Regions from separate parts of the Homo sapiens genome. Here region 1 is linked to region 2. Evidence: promoter capture Hi-C in 16 types of primary human blood cells and fetal thymus (Javierre and others, 2016). All regions are on one chromosome and are shown on one strand. Each heading gives the region's core, a stretch centred on a gene start or on the middle of the fragment in contact. The rest is flanking DNA. Distances are from core to core; before and after follow the strand shown. Region 1 holds the start of CD84-AS1 (CD84 antisense RNA 1). Region 2 holds the start of PIGM (phosphatidylinositol glycan anchor biosynthesis class M).

What was found. The method cuts DNA at HindIII sites, captures the fragments that hold promoters and counts their contacts. A CHiCAGO score of 5 or more calls a contact.
Region 1: a contact is called between the fragment with the promoter of CD84-AS1 here and the fragment with the promoter of PIGM in region 2, in 9 of 17 cell types (M2 macrophages, monocytes, erythroblasts and 6 more). The highest score is 9.0, in M2 macrophages.

What each region holds. Positions count from the first base shown.
Region 1 is chr1:160,535,624-160,541,758 of GRCh38, reverse strand. It overlaps CD84-AS1 (CD84 antisense RNA 1), which reads right to left and starts at 4,663. Exons shown (of 2, transcript NR_188634.1): 1 at 4,572-4,663. CD84 (CD84 molecule) reads left to right here. Exons shown (of 7, transcript NM_003874.4): 7 at 1-661. RefSeq lists enhancers at 1,266-1,560, 1,576-1,665. The HindIII fragment of the contact is 1,945 bases long and covers 3,602-5,546 here.
Region 2 is chr1:160,030,334-160,037,357 of GRCh38, reverse strand. It overlaps PIGM (phosphatidylinositol glycan anchor biosynthesis class M), which reads left to right and starts at 5,368. Exons shown (of 1, transcript NM_145167.3): 1 at 5,368-7,024. The coding sequence starts at 5,619. The coding sequence ends at 6,890. The HindIII fragment of the contact is 5,226 bases long and covers 2,070-7,024 here.

The DNA.
Region 1 (6,135 bases), core at 3,414-5,913, 510 kb before region 2:
TCTGACCCATCAGACCTTCCAGGCTGTCTCCTGCCTGCTCCCTAAGGCTCCAGCCACACAGAATTATCATGGGCCCACACACCCACCAAATCCTCCCATGCCTTTGCCCATGTTGTCTGGGATGCCCTTCTCTCCCTTCTGTCTACATCAAGCATCAGACTGAATATCCCTCTTGTGCGGCCTTCTAAAACCTCCCGTCCAAAGCGAAATATATTGCCCTCTATTTATACTTTTACAGCATTTGGCACACAAGTACAGAGTAGTAGCTTTTTATCACATTCTCTGATAATTATATAGATATGGTATTTCTTAGCTCTCTCTCCAACTGGCTAATAAGTTGCTTTTTGTCTGAGTGCCTAATTTTGTGTTTTGTGTCTGAGTGCCTCAGTTCCTCAAAAAAAGGTTTTTTGATTAGTTCATTATTCATTTGAACATGGAAATTATGCTCACTAGTGGCAAATGCCACTAACCGTATTCCAGAAGCTAGGTGTCATGTTTGCAATAAGATATATTATCCCTTCTACAAGTCACCTTTTATTTCAGGCATTTGTAAATGCCCATTAATAAAGTATGGTTCATAAATTTTACCTTGTAAGTGCCTAAGAAATGAGACTACAAGCTCCATTTCAGCAGGACACAATAAATATTATTTTATAATGCATCTATTTTGTGTTTTACTTTGTTTTGGTTTTTGAGAGCAACAAAAATGAAGTAAACAGATGAAACAGCAAAGGAGACAGTCCACATGATAAAAGCCCTGTGCTGTCTGAAAACCCAGGCCCTGAGTGGACACAAGAGACCAAGGGATTGAGGGTATAAGACAGACAAAGAAAAAAAGAAAAGCTGATGTAGAGAGATGATTGGGACCTTGAGAGGAGACTGAGAAGCTAGAGACAGGAAGGACAAATGCCAGAAACAGAAAAAACCCGGAGGGCAGCAGAGGTGCTTGGTTAAGGTGGAGAAGAGAGTTCTGCCTTGGTCAACCTAGAGAGAGGAAATTGAGGACTTAAATCACGTTTTGGGGGTCATCTCCCTCCAGGGAAGAAGCTTTGTCTTATTCATTTTTCACTCACAGTGCCCTATCACAGGAGCCAATGCCTAGCAGAGCTTAGTAAGTATTTGTTGAACTGAATTTGGATTGGCACCCACATATCAGAAGAGGAAAGAGAGTCCTGGAAACCACATTCAGAGTCCGAGTCCCAAATTGGAGAGTAGAAATTCTCTGTGTCACCCATAGTGCCACTTGGAGGAAAGGGATAAAAAGACTGGGCTTTTAACTGAGGAGAATGAGGTTGTGGTTTCCACAGAACTGTAGGTGCAGGGCCTCTGAATGTTTGGTAAACACTGAAGGGGAGGTGACTTACTAACAGGCGCTGTGAGATAGCAAATGGTTTTTAGGCCTGAGACAAAACCACTTCCTCTATTCCCTGCTTATCAGAGGCCACAGCTGCTCTGTTCTGAGCCAGCGTTTGCAGATAAGCCTGGTCTTCCAGCTCCCCACCTACATCTTCTTGTGGGGTTGAAATTGACTGCTACCCATGTAGAATTTCGGAGTCCCTGTGTAGAAACTCTGTAGGCAGATACAGCAACCGTTTGAGAAGATAAATTTCGCTAGTGTTTCTCCAGTGCTTTCTGAGGTTTGGCACATTTCATTTCATTTCATCTACACATTAGCCATAGGACTTTCAGCTTGAAATTACCTCCACCTCCTTACCCTCACTACCTCCAATACACAGCTTCACTCATTCACACAATGCCCATTCATTCTTCTGGGATAAGCTCAAGCGTCCCTTCCTGGGGGGAAGTTTTCCCTGTTCCTCCAGGCCATATCTGATGCCCGTGTTTTGCGCTCATAGTACAACACCTCTTGCCTTTACAGCAGTTTTCAATTTTGTCTTTAAATATTTCTCCCTGTGATTATTTTATTAATTCCTCTCTTCCGTCACTGGACTGTGAGTTCCATCAGGACACAGATCATGCGTGGTTTTGTCACCATTTGTATCCACAGTGCCTGACCCAGTGCAAGTAGTCCTCAATTTGTAATACTTTAATTATTGAAGACGCAATAGCTTATCAGCCTTTAACTGTGTTAGCTGGCATGTTACAATCCTTTGGCATATGTATCAACGACAAAGCCAGGTATACTGTTTATTTCTGAAGTATATTACCTTCATAGATTCTATAAAACCCTTGGTTGGAAATGCACTAGAAAATATTGATTTTACCTGCTATGCAGGAGACACAGAAGAGTTAACACAGCAGGGCTAAAACTGCTGTCCTTTGAAGGGCATGCTTATAAGGTTGGCCCTTGGCTGGTGTCTGAGAACTTGGACTTTGGGACGGTTCCTACCATTCCCTGATAAGAATTCCCTGATAAGGTACTTACACTGTACCTAAATTGTTGGCACAACAATTTGTTTTTTGCTGAATATCTGCTTTCTTTCTTGGATTCTGGAATTTTGGTGCATGCTAGGTAGAGGGTGCCTACGTTACTGCCTGCAGAGAAAAACCCTAAATGCCTAGGCTCCATCGAGCTTCTTTGGTAGATTACATTTCAAACATGACACAACATGTTGTTGAAGGAATTACATACATCCTGTTTGACTCCACTATGAGAGGACTCTAGAAGCTTGCACCTGGTTTCCTCTGGACTTTGCCCTTTTGCCTTTGCTGATTTTCTTTGTGTTTATTCACTGTAATAAATCGGCCATGACTATGGCTATATGCTGAGTCTTGTGAGTCCTCCTACTGAATGACTGAATCTGGGGGTGGTCTTGAAAACCCCAACACAACTCCTGAATGTCACTACAATCTATCTACCTCTCTTTCACCACTAACTACAGTAGTCCAGGTTGCCATCATCTCTTACCCAGACAATAGCACTTGACCTCTTGCAGTCGTGCCTGCTCCCAGTCCAATCCATTCTCTACACCACAACCAGAGTGATCTTTCCAAAACACAAATAATGGTTATATTGGCCATGCTAATGTCATCTGGTGGCAGAAAGGACCAATGGATTGCTGTGGTATAAGGCTTTGTATATGTAATAACTTATAAGTTGAAAATTTATAATTAAGCCCTGGCACAGTGGCTCACGCCTGTATTGGGAGGCTGAGGTGGGTGGATTACTTGAGGCCAGGAGTTCAAGACCAGCCTGGTCAACATGGTGAAACCCCGTCTCTACTAAAAGTACAAAAACAAAAAAAAAAAAAAGCCGGGTGTGGTGGCACACACCTGTAGTCCCAGCTACTTGGAAGGCTGAGGCACGAGAATTGCTTGAACCCGGGAGGCAGAGGTTGCAGTGAGCTGAGATGGTGCCACTGCACTCCAGCCTGGGCAACAGAGCAAGACTCTTTCTCAAAAGAAAGAAAAGAAAGAAAAAAAAAAGAAAAGGAAAGGAAAGAAAGAAAGAGAGAGAGAAAGTTAGTTTATAATTAGAAGAAATTCTTTAACCTGAAAAAAAATGGAAAGATATTCAGTGGTCTAATTGCCAAAAGTGTACCAGCCTAGATGGTCTTAAGGGCTAGTCCTATCACCTACAATGAAAGGATAATTCCCAGTCATCTTAACTGTCCCAAGGCATAGAAAACAGTGGGAAGCTTCCAAATTCATTAAATACTATAATATAACACTGATTCCAAAGCCAGATAAGGATGATCCCCCACAAAGAGATACATAGGCCAGGAGTTAGCAAACTATGGCGTGTGGCCACATCCAGTCTGCCATCTGTTTTTATTTGACCCACGAACTAAGAATAGTTTACATTTTTAAAATGGTTGAAAAGAATTCAAAGAATAATAATATTTTGGGACATGTTAAAATTATGTGAAATTCAAATTTCAGCATCCATAAATAAAGTTTTATTGAAACACAGCCAACACGCATTCTTTTATGTGTTTATTATGGCTGCTTCCATACTACACCAGCAGAGTTGAGTAGTTGCAAAGGAGATTGTATGGTCCACAAAGTCCAATATTCACTACTGGGACCTTTACAGAAAAAGTCTGCCACATCCTGATATAGTCCAATCTCACTTATAAATATAAATGTTAAAAATCTTAAACTTCAGTCAATTTTAAAGCAATGCATTAAAAGAAAAAAAAATGCGACCAAGTAGGATTTTATCCTTAGAGTGCCAGGATGATTTATCTTTAAGAAACCATCTATTGTAATTTGCTGTTCAAACAGATTAAAGGAGATGAAAAAAATAATCATCCTGACATAGTCTACAATATATATTTGATAAAACTGAATACCCATGACTGATTTAAAAAGTTTTCAAGAAAGCTAAAAATAGAATGTGTTTTAGTCAATATCCAATTTTAAAAAACTGAGACCATGTTAAATACTGAAAACTCAACAAGCTGAATATAGGGAATTGATTCCAAAAGTGATGGAGGAGTAAAACAGGGAAGCTGAGGTTACCAAGCAATTAATAATTCCAGGAAGTTGCTATGGAACTTTGTCCCTATGGAAATTTGTCTTGGGAATCAGTGCTGCCAGCTTTCAAGATTCTAAGAGTTCACAGTCTCATCAAAACTGTGAGACTCTGGGAGACAAAAATAACTCACCACTGCAGATGCCACCATCAAAGCCTGATCCCACCAGTACCACACTAGCAAGACTTCTGACATGCTTGCTGGAACTGCACTGCTACACCAGGAACCCTGAAGCGGTACTCATCTTCTGCTATCACTGCCACTACTGAAAACATTACCAGAAACCAAGATTATGGAAAAATATATAATTTATTCCTTCCATCCAACTTTAACCAATACCACCCAGTGACAAAATCTAATCAGAAGCCATCTGACAATGGAAATGATAAATGTAGTTTGCAGACTTCTAACCTTCTGAAAAACAAGGAACACAGAAGGGTGGGAATAGAGCTGAGAGCAAATAAGCAAATGACTGGCTCGGGTTAAACTTTTACAACTTGATACAGCATATGTAGCAAACATTTATTGGAAACATTAGAGGCATTCTTAATAAAGAAATGAATACAAGTAACCATTCTTGTATTCAGTGAATACAAGATCACTGCTACTCTTCAACTGTATTGTATTGAAGATCCTTGTTAGTAAAGTGAGTCAAGAAATACATATAAGAGGCTATCTCACATCTAGAATCAGTCATTTTTCTAAGGGGCATTGGTTCTTCAGAGAGAATATTATTTATCCACCAAGATCTTGGATAATGTCACTAATTTTTAGTTACTTAAGAAATATGTGAACACATTTCTATCATCTTTTTAAAAATCAGTGTAAAAGTATAGAGATAGAGAGAGTGATGTCAGCAAAGTGGTGGACTAGGAAATTCCAAACTCTCTCTTTCCCCCAACTTAGAGTAATAAAAAAACAGCCAAACAAACAAAAAAAAACCCAAATGGTTGAATTAACCTTATAGGGACTCTGGAAAACAGTCAGAGTTTTATAACAACCAATCAAATGCCCAATGAAGAAAAAGCCACTTTTGAAATGGTAGGAAAAGTTCCATGGCATTTTTCTTGCCCTTGCCCCATCCCCTCCTCATCCCAACAGAAAGCTTGTTTAGAGGAGGCAGGAGTTCACTTCTCAGTTCCCTCTCTTGAATGGGAGGGAACATAACAGATCTTATTTGCAATATTCTAATCTGTCTTAGGAGTCCATGAAGAACTGGTCTCTATTTCACTTAATTCAGATCTCAAGTGGGAAAGTGCCACTACTATGAACCCAAAGCTATCAAAATAAAGAAAATAATAAAGATTAGACCAGAGATAAAATAGAGAAAATTAATGAACCAAAAAGTTGATTACTTAAAAGGATCAACGAAATTGGCAAATTTAGTTAGAGTGGTTATGGAAAAAAAGACAGAGTGCTCAAATTACTAAAATTGGAAATGAAAATGAGGACACTACAACCAATTTTTCAGAAATGAATAGAAGAGACTACTACAAACAAATTGGATAACATAGATGAAGTAGACACAATTTTTACAAAGACTGAATCATGAAGAAATAGAAAATCTGATTAGACCTATAACTACTAAGAATATTAAGTAAATAATTTTAAAACAACTTCCCAACAAGGAGAAGTCCTGGATCAGAAGGCTTCACTGGTCACCAAAGAGTTTTAAAAGATTTTACACTAATCCTTC
Region 2 (7,024 bases), core at 4,119-6,618:
ACTGCATGGCCAAGCCCCTTCTGTTTTTCTCTCATGCTTTAGCGAGTTCCTTTCACATTCGGTTTTCATGGGACAATACTGAAAAAAACTTTAAGACCCAGAAGTATGAAAATTGGCTCAGCTTAATCCATAAAAGTCAAGTTGCTTTGGATCCTGGGCATTGTCCCTTTTGGCCAGTGATCACAAGCCCAATTTCCCTTCCATGCTACCATGTAGTCTTGTTGCCAGTTTTCCTTATATATCCTCAAGGTTCTTTGTAAGCTTATTCCTTTAATCACCAGGCATTTCTTCCCTCAAATCTCAAATAAATGGATTTCTCTTCTACCCTTGTCTGTCAGTAGCCTGAGAAAGGTCTGGTTGTTAATATCCAGGCCTGAATTTTCTCTGATGAGAGGCAAAAGACCCTATGATCGCTGACTCTTGTTCCCCAGAAGTGGAAGGAGAGAGAGAGGAGGAGGGAGAAAATTGGGTCTCTTACCATGATCAATAAATACTTAAGTACAACATTTAGGAAATACTAGGAATGAATCCTAAGACATATGAGACATATAAGATATAGGACATGTATTGTTCCTAAAAGGCCTAAAAGGTTGAAGAAACCTATAAACTTGTTAGAAAACAGAAATAAAACAAGTAGCATATAACAAATATAATGAAAAGCAATAGCAGGTACCATGTACTAATGCCAGATATAACATTAGCAGAATGTTCCAAAAAGAGTGAGATCTCTGTGGGAAACATTTCACAGGGACAGGAACTAGGGAAGGGATGGTATCAATCTAACATGTTTGGTTAGAATACATTAAGGTTCAAGAAAAATCAGCAAACGCTGAGTCCCTATTATGTGGAAGGTATCATTCAGCTGACAAAGAAATATAAGACATGATGCATGAATCAAGGGATGTACAATCATGGCACTTTCCACCTGCTATTCCTTCTGTGGAACTCTCCCCACTGCTTGCCAACTTCCAATTTTCTTGTTTTTTTTTTTTTTGAGACGGAGTCTTGCTCTGTAGCCCAGACTGGAGTGCAGTGGCACGATCTCAGCTTACTGCAACCTCCACCTCTCGGGTTCAAGCGACTCTCCTGCCTCAGCCTCCTGAGTAGCTGGGACTCCAGGCACACGCCAACACGCATGGCTAACTTTTGTAATTTTAGTAGAGACAGGGTTTCACCATATTGGTAAGGCTGGTCTCGAACCCCTGACCTCAGGTGATTCACCCATCTCAGCCTCCCAAAGTGCTGGGATTACAGGCGTGAGCCACTGTGCCTGGCCAACCTTCTTAACTCTTACACTATGCCCATCTGAGATCAAATAAATCCCCTTAAAAGCTAGAGCACTTACCACAGCTGCATTTGTATATTATTTGTCAATTTATTTGACTAATGTCTGTGTAGCTTACTAGACTTCAAGTGTCACATGAATGGGATTCATGTCAAGTGTTTGGTCACGAGTACAGCCCAGCACCTCATATAGTGCCCGACATGTATGATGTTTGATAAATTAGCAGGAGGGAAAGAAAGCAAAGAGAGAAAGAAATGGCCTAAAGTATGCAGTGGAGCTTGTATATCTTGTTAAATAACTATAAAAGAGTTAGATAACGAGCATGACATAATTACTATTAAAAAAGAGAACAGACAATAAACATCACTGTTTTGAGGAGGGAGAGACTATTTCACTTGTTAAGGTCTAGGAAGAGGAGTTGAGAGTTGGGTTCAACATTGAAAAACCAAATAGCATTTAAGTAAGTAAAGAGAAACAGGTCTCTTTGTAGGAAGTACAGCATGAAGAAAGTGTCATGAGAAGAAAGCACAAGGCATATTTTGGGAACAGTAAACCTAAAACAGAGGCATTATAGGTGAATAGGATGGAAAGCTAAGGTAAAGCCAGAAAATAGGGGGACTGAATATCAGGCTAAAGTGTTCATTATTTTTTTCTTTAGGCAGTCAGGAACCACTGAAGATGTTTGATGGAGGAAAGAATCTAAGTAAAGTACTATTAATTAATATCAATCTGGTAGTAGAATTGAGACATAAGACATTAAATCAGTTAAGAGATTTTTAAAGCTTGAGGGAAAGGCAATTGTCACAGATCCTGGTATAGTATAGTATAGGTGTTCGCTACGTATTATTTGAGTTGTTGAAGGTCTGAACTAAGGTGCAGGATGCTGGGCATGGAAAGAATTAGAAATAGATTCCAAAGAAATGACAAAGCAAGACATATGAACAAAATCTAGTGAAAAAGAAAGTGATTAAAGTAGTCAAGGTTCTAGCAGGAAACAGATGGTATACTCAAAGGGCCAGTGGACATGTTTTAATGAAGAAACTATTTGCAAAGGTATGGGCAAGTTTAATAAATCAACAAGATATGGTGATGTACCCAGGCACTCGCAAAGTAGGACGCCTTTACCAGCCTTAAACCTGAAGGGACAGTTACTGGAACCATGAGACTTGTACCCAAAGGAGAGAGCTATAGCTTCAACAGGAGCCATGGCTTTAGGTGAGGAATTCCAGACACTGCCAAAGATCTGCTAGTGCCTCCCACTGGTCTATTCTAATGGGAAGCCAGAGAACAAGGGAGATTGAGTGATGCTACCCATACAGCCTAACCTCTTGGAACACAGAACAGGGCAAAAAAGATGAATAGTGGATATGGAAGGGTAATGAGAGTATATGCAGCATAGTGAACAAGGACAAGGTTCCTGCTAGGGAAACTAAAGTTGAGCGATCCATGTTTGTGCTTTCCTTAGTCATTGGCTCTAAAAGGATAGAAATCTAGGAGCAGATAGTGAAAGGGGGAATTAAGAAGGATTGTAAGTAACAGTCCGAGAGGTAATGAACAGTTGAGCATTTGAAAAAAATGTAACTCTTTCAGAAAGAGGTGAGAAAATACAATCCCTAAACCCAATGCAAAAAGTTCAATATGGGGTCCTCGGACCCTGTGATGTATCTCTTCCACCCAGAAATAGTAACTAAAGTTGGACCTCTCTGTCCAATTTGTTTTACAGATTCCAGTCTCTTCTTCGTTCCCACAACTGCTATCTACATCTCACTCCTTTGACTTCAGTGACATGCTTAGTTTTTTTTTTATTTTATTTTTTTATTAGTTGTTTCCTTATCTGCCTAAATTTGGTGCCTCCCATCTCTCTACTAGGACAGCCATGTAGGGACAGATTGACTGAAACCTTTCTGCTATACTACTGAAACCAATCCAGCCACAAGGACCCTTACTTAGTTAATCCTCAGACACCTACCTCCCATATTTTCTATCTTAGGGAACTAAGCCTCACTTATCTATTATTTGCAGAAGAAAAGAATAAATCAGAGGTAGAAAGAGTCACAGTGAGAGAGAATATCCAGAATATCAAGATGAGAGATCAATAAGAGAAAACATAGGAAAATTAGAATTTGTGATCAACATTTTATTGGCAAGTCAGCCACATAATGATTAAGATATTCTAGGTCAGACAGACTGGGTTTTGAGTTCTAGCACTGTCACTAGTTAGCTATGTGACTTGGGAAAATTACTTAATCTCCATAAGCCTTGGTTTTCTTCATTTGTAAAGGTGGGAATATCTACCTTACATGAAAAGTACTTAGCATAATGCCTGGTACATTGCAAATGAGTCCTCAACAAATCCAGCTATTATAAATAATAGTAATCATCATCATCATAATCATCATTATATGAGTGGTGATGTGCTGCCACTATATATATGGCTAATATACTGCAAAAAAATGGTTAGAATTATCAATCTAAGGCATGTAATGATACCAAGGCATATAAAAGGACATAGAGCTATCACAATATGAATATGGAATATATAAGATTAACACAGTTCATCTCCAAGGGATAAATTGAAGTGTAGGATGGATGAGCAGCAGGTAGTTCTGGGAGCTGCATGTTCAGACTGCATGAAGTCACCTCCTTTTCCTTATTCTAGTCTAGAAGACTTCCCCTAGGAAGCAGGCTTATTCTATAAAATCCAATTAGTCAGTATTTACTAAGCATTTACCATGTGCCTAAGACTACAATAAATTACACATAATTGAAAAAAATTAAGGATAAGATATAATTTCTACCCCCAAGAACCCTATAATCTCTTGTGAGGGCTATGAATACAATCTAAAATAAAGTATCAAATTCTACAATGCGGACTATGTAAGTGCACTAAGTAACCACGGAAAGGGAAGAGCTAATGGGTTACAGTCCTTGGCAAGAAATTCATGGAAGTAGGGTTGGAGTGGGGTGGGGGGAGCAGGGGACCTTGACATACATAAAGGATATTTAAAAGGGAAAATAACTGGGAGTTGGGAGCAATCCAAAGATGCCACTCTAGAAATATTCTGGTAGGAGGAACCTCTAAAATCAATTCAACTTTACTGAATGGCTACTAGTACTGTGTTAGATGTTGAGGTAGAGAAAAGAACAAGATAATCTCTGATACCGAAGAATTGAAAGTGTCCTGATGGAAAACTAGGAGAGCAAAACAAACAAAAACAGTTATTACAAAGCAGTGTGACAAATGCTGTAACAAAGGAATGACCAGGGAGTTCTGGAGCACTGGGAGAACTTTTAGTAGCATGGCAGGGTCTTCTGTGTGAGTGATTTTCTGGAACTTAGATCCCGTCCGCCCCAGTCTACCTATCCTCGGACAGGGGAGGGGACTGGCATCTAAGTCATTCATTCTGCGTGATGAGGAAGTGAGTGGGAGCTGGGAGCTAACACTTGCACTGATGCCTGAAGGGTTGAGTAGGTATTTGCCAGAGTGATTGGAGAGCGGATGGCAACTTTGACAGAAGAAATAGCAAATACAGAGATACTGAGGCATAAGGGGCTGACAAGTTAAGGAATTTTGTGACGCTTTCCTGTCTTCTTTCCCATCACCTTCACCTAGGGTTGCCGGATAAAATACAAGCTGCCCACTTAAATCTGAATCTCTGATTACCAACTAGTAATTTAAAAATATAAGTATGCCTCCAATATTGCATGGAACATACACACTCAGCCCCCTTCAACTCATCCTGTCCTGTCCGGGGCCCACAAATCCCCGGTGAATACCGGCGAGCTAGTGGAGTAAAGCATGAGAAGGCTTATCTTCCTTTCACTCCTACATTTTTCACTCTCGGATCTCCAGCCCAGGACTGAAGGATGTAGCGCGCAGCCCGCAGCTCGCTGCTCGTCGGAGGGTTTTCCTCTGAGGACTGGAAATGGGGCGCGGGAAGAGGGCGGGGGGCGGCGGGCTGTCACTTACAAAGAAATCTCACTCCACTCCATAAAATCCTCAAGCCAGTGCCGGATTTCCCGGCAAGCGGACGTCTCCCCTCCCACGGACCGGAAATCCCGCCTCCGCTGGAAGAAGAAGCGGAAGCGAGACCGTCCATCCAGAGGAAGGCAAGTTTTTGGCTCGGGCGGCTGAGAAGACCGCGCGGGGCTGGAGACAGGTAGCAGTACGGGGGCGGGGCTTCATGCCGGATGTGATAGTCTGCAGTCGTTTCGGTTGGCAGCCTGGCGGGTGGGAGATGCGGCGGCCACCTGCTGCAAAGAACCGAAGGGAAGGTTAGAAGTACGAAGGCAGTTTGGAGCTGGGGCTAAGCAGCTGTCGCACGGTCAGATCATGGGCTCCACCAAGCACTGGGGCGAATGGCTCCTGAACTTGAAGGTGGCTCCAGCCGGCGTCTTTGGTGTGGCCTTTCTAGCCAGAGTCGCCCTGGTTTTCTATGGCGTCTTCCAGGACCGGACCCTGCACGTGAGGTATACGGACATCGACTACCAGGTCTTCACCGACGCCGCGCGCTTCGTCACGGAGGGGCGCTCGCCTTACCTGAGAGCCACGTACCGTTACACCCCGCTGCTGGGTTGGCTCCTCACTCCCAACATCTACCTCAGCGAGCTCTTTGGAAAGTTTCTCTTCATCAGCTGCGACCTCCTCACCGCTTTCCTCTTATACCGCCTGCTGCTGCTGAAGGGGCTGGGGCGCCGCCAGGCTTGTGGCTACTGTGTCTTTTGGCTTCTTAACCCCCTGCCTATGGCAGTATCCAGCCGCGGTAATGCGGACTCTATTGTCGCCTCCCTGGTCCTGATGGTCCTCTACTTGATAAAGAAAAGACTCGTCGCGTGTGCAGCTGTATTCTATGGTTTCGCGGTGCATATGAAGATATATCCAGTGACTTACATCCTTCCCATAACCCTCCACCTGCTTCCAGATCGCGACAATGACAAAAGCCTCCGTCAATTCCGGTACACTTTCCAGGCTTGTTTGTACGAGCTCCTGAAAAGGCTGTGTAATCGGGCTGTGCTGCTGTTTGTAGCAGTTGCTGGACTCACGTTTTTTGCCCTGAGCTTTGGTTTTTACTATGAGTACGGCTGGGAATTTTTGGAACACACCTACTTTTATCACCTGACTAGGCGGGATATCCGTCACAACTTTTCTCCGTACTTCTACATGCTGTATTTGACTGCAGAGAGCAAGTGGAGTTTTTCCCTGGGAATTGCTGCATTCCTGCCACAGCTCATCTTGCTTTCAGCTGTGTCTTTCGCCTATTACAGAGACCTCGTTTTTTGTTGTTTTCTTCATACGTCCATTTTTGTGACTTTTAACAAAGTCTGCACCTCCCAGTACTTTCTTTGGTACCTCTGCTTACTGCCTCTTGTGATGCCACTAGTCAGAATGCCTTGGAAAAGAGCTGTAGTTCTCCTAATGTTATGGTTTATAGGGCAGGCCATGTGGCTGGCTCCTGCCTATGTTCTAGAGTTTCAAGGAAAGAACACCTTTCTGTTTATTTGGTTAGCTGGTTTGTTCTTTCTTCTTATCAATTGTTCCATCCTGATTCAAATTATTTCCCATTACAAAGAAGAACCCCTGACAGAGAGAATCAAATATGACTAGTGTATGTTCCACACCCTCTGCTACTGTGTTACATTCTGATTGTCTTGTATGGACCAGAAGAGAGCTTTGGGACATTTTTTCTGAACATTCTAAGCATTCTAGTGAAAGTTCCCATGTTCCAACAGAACTTAAAA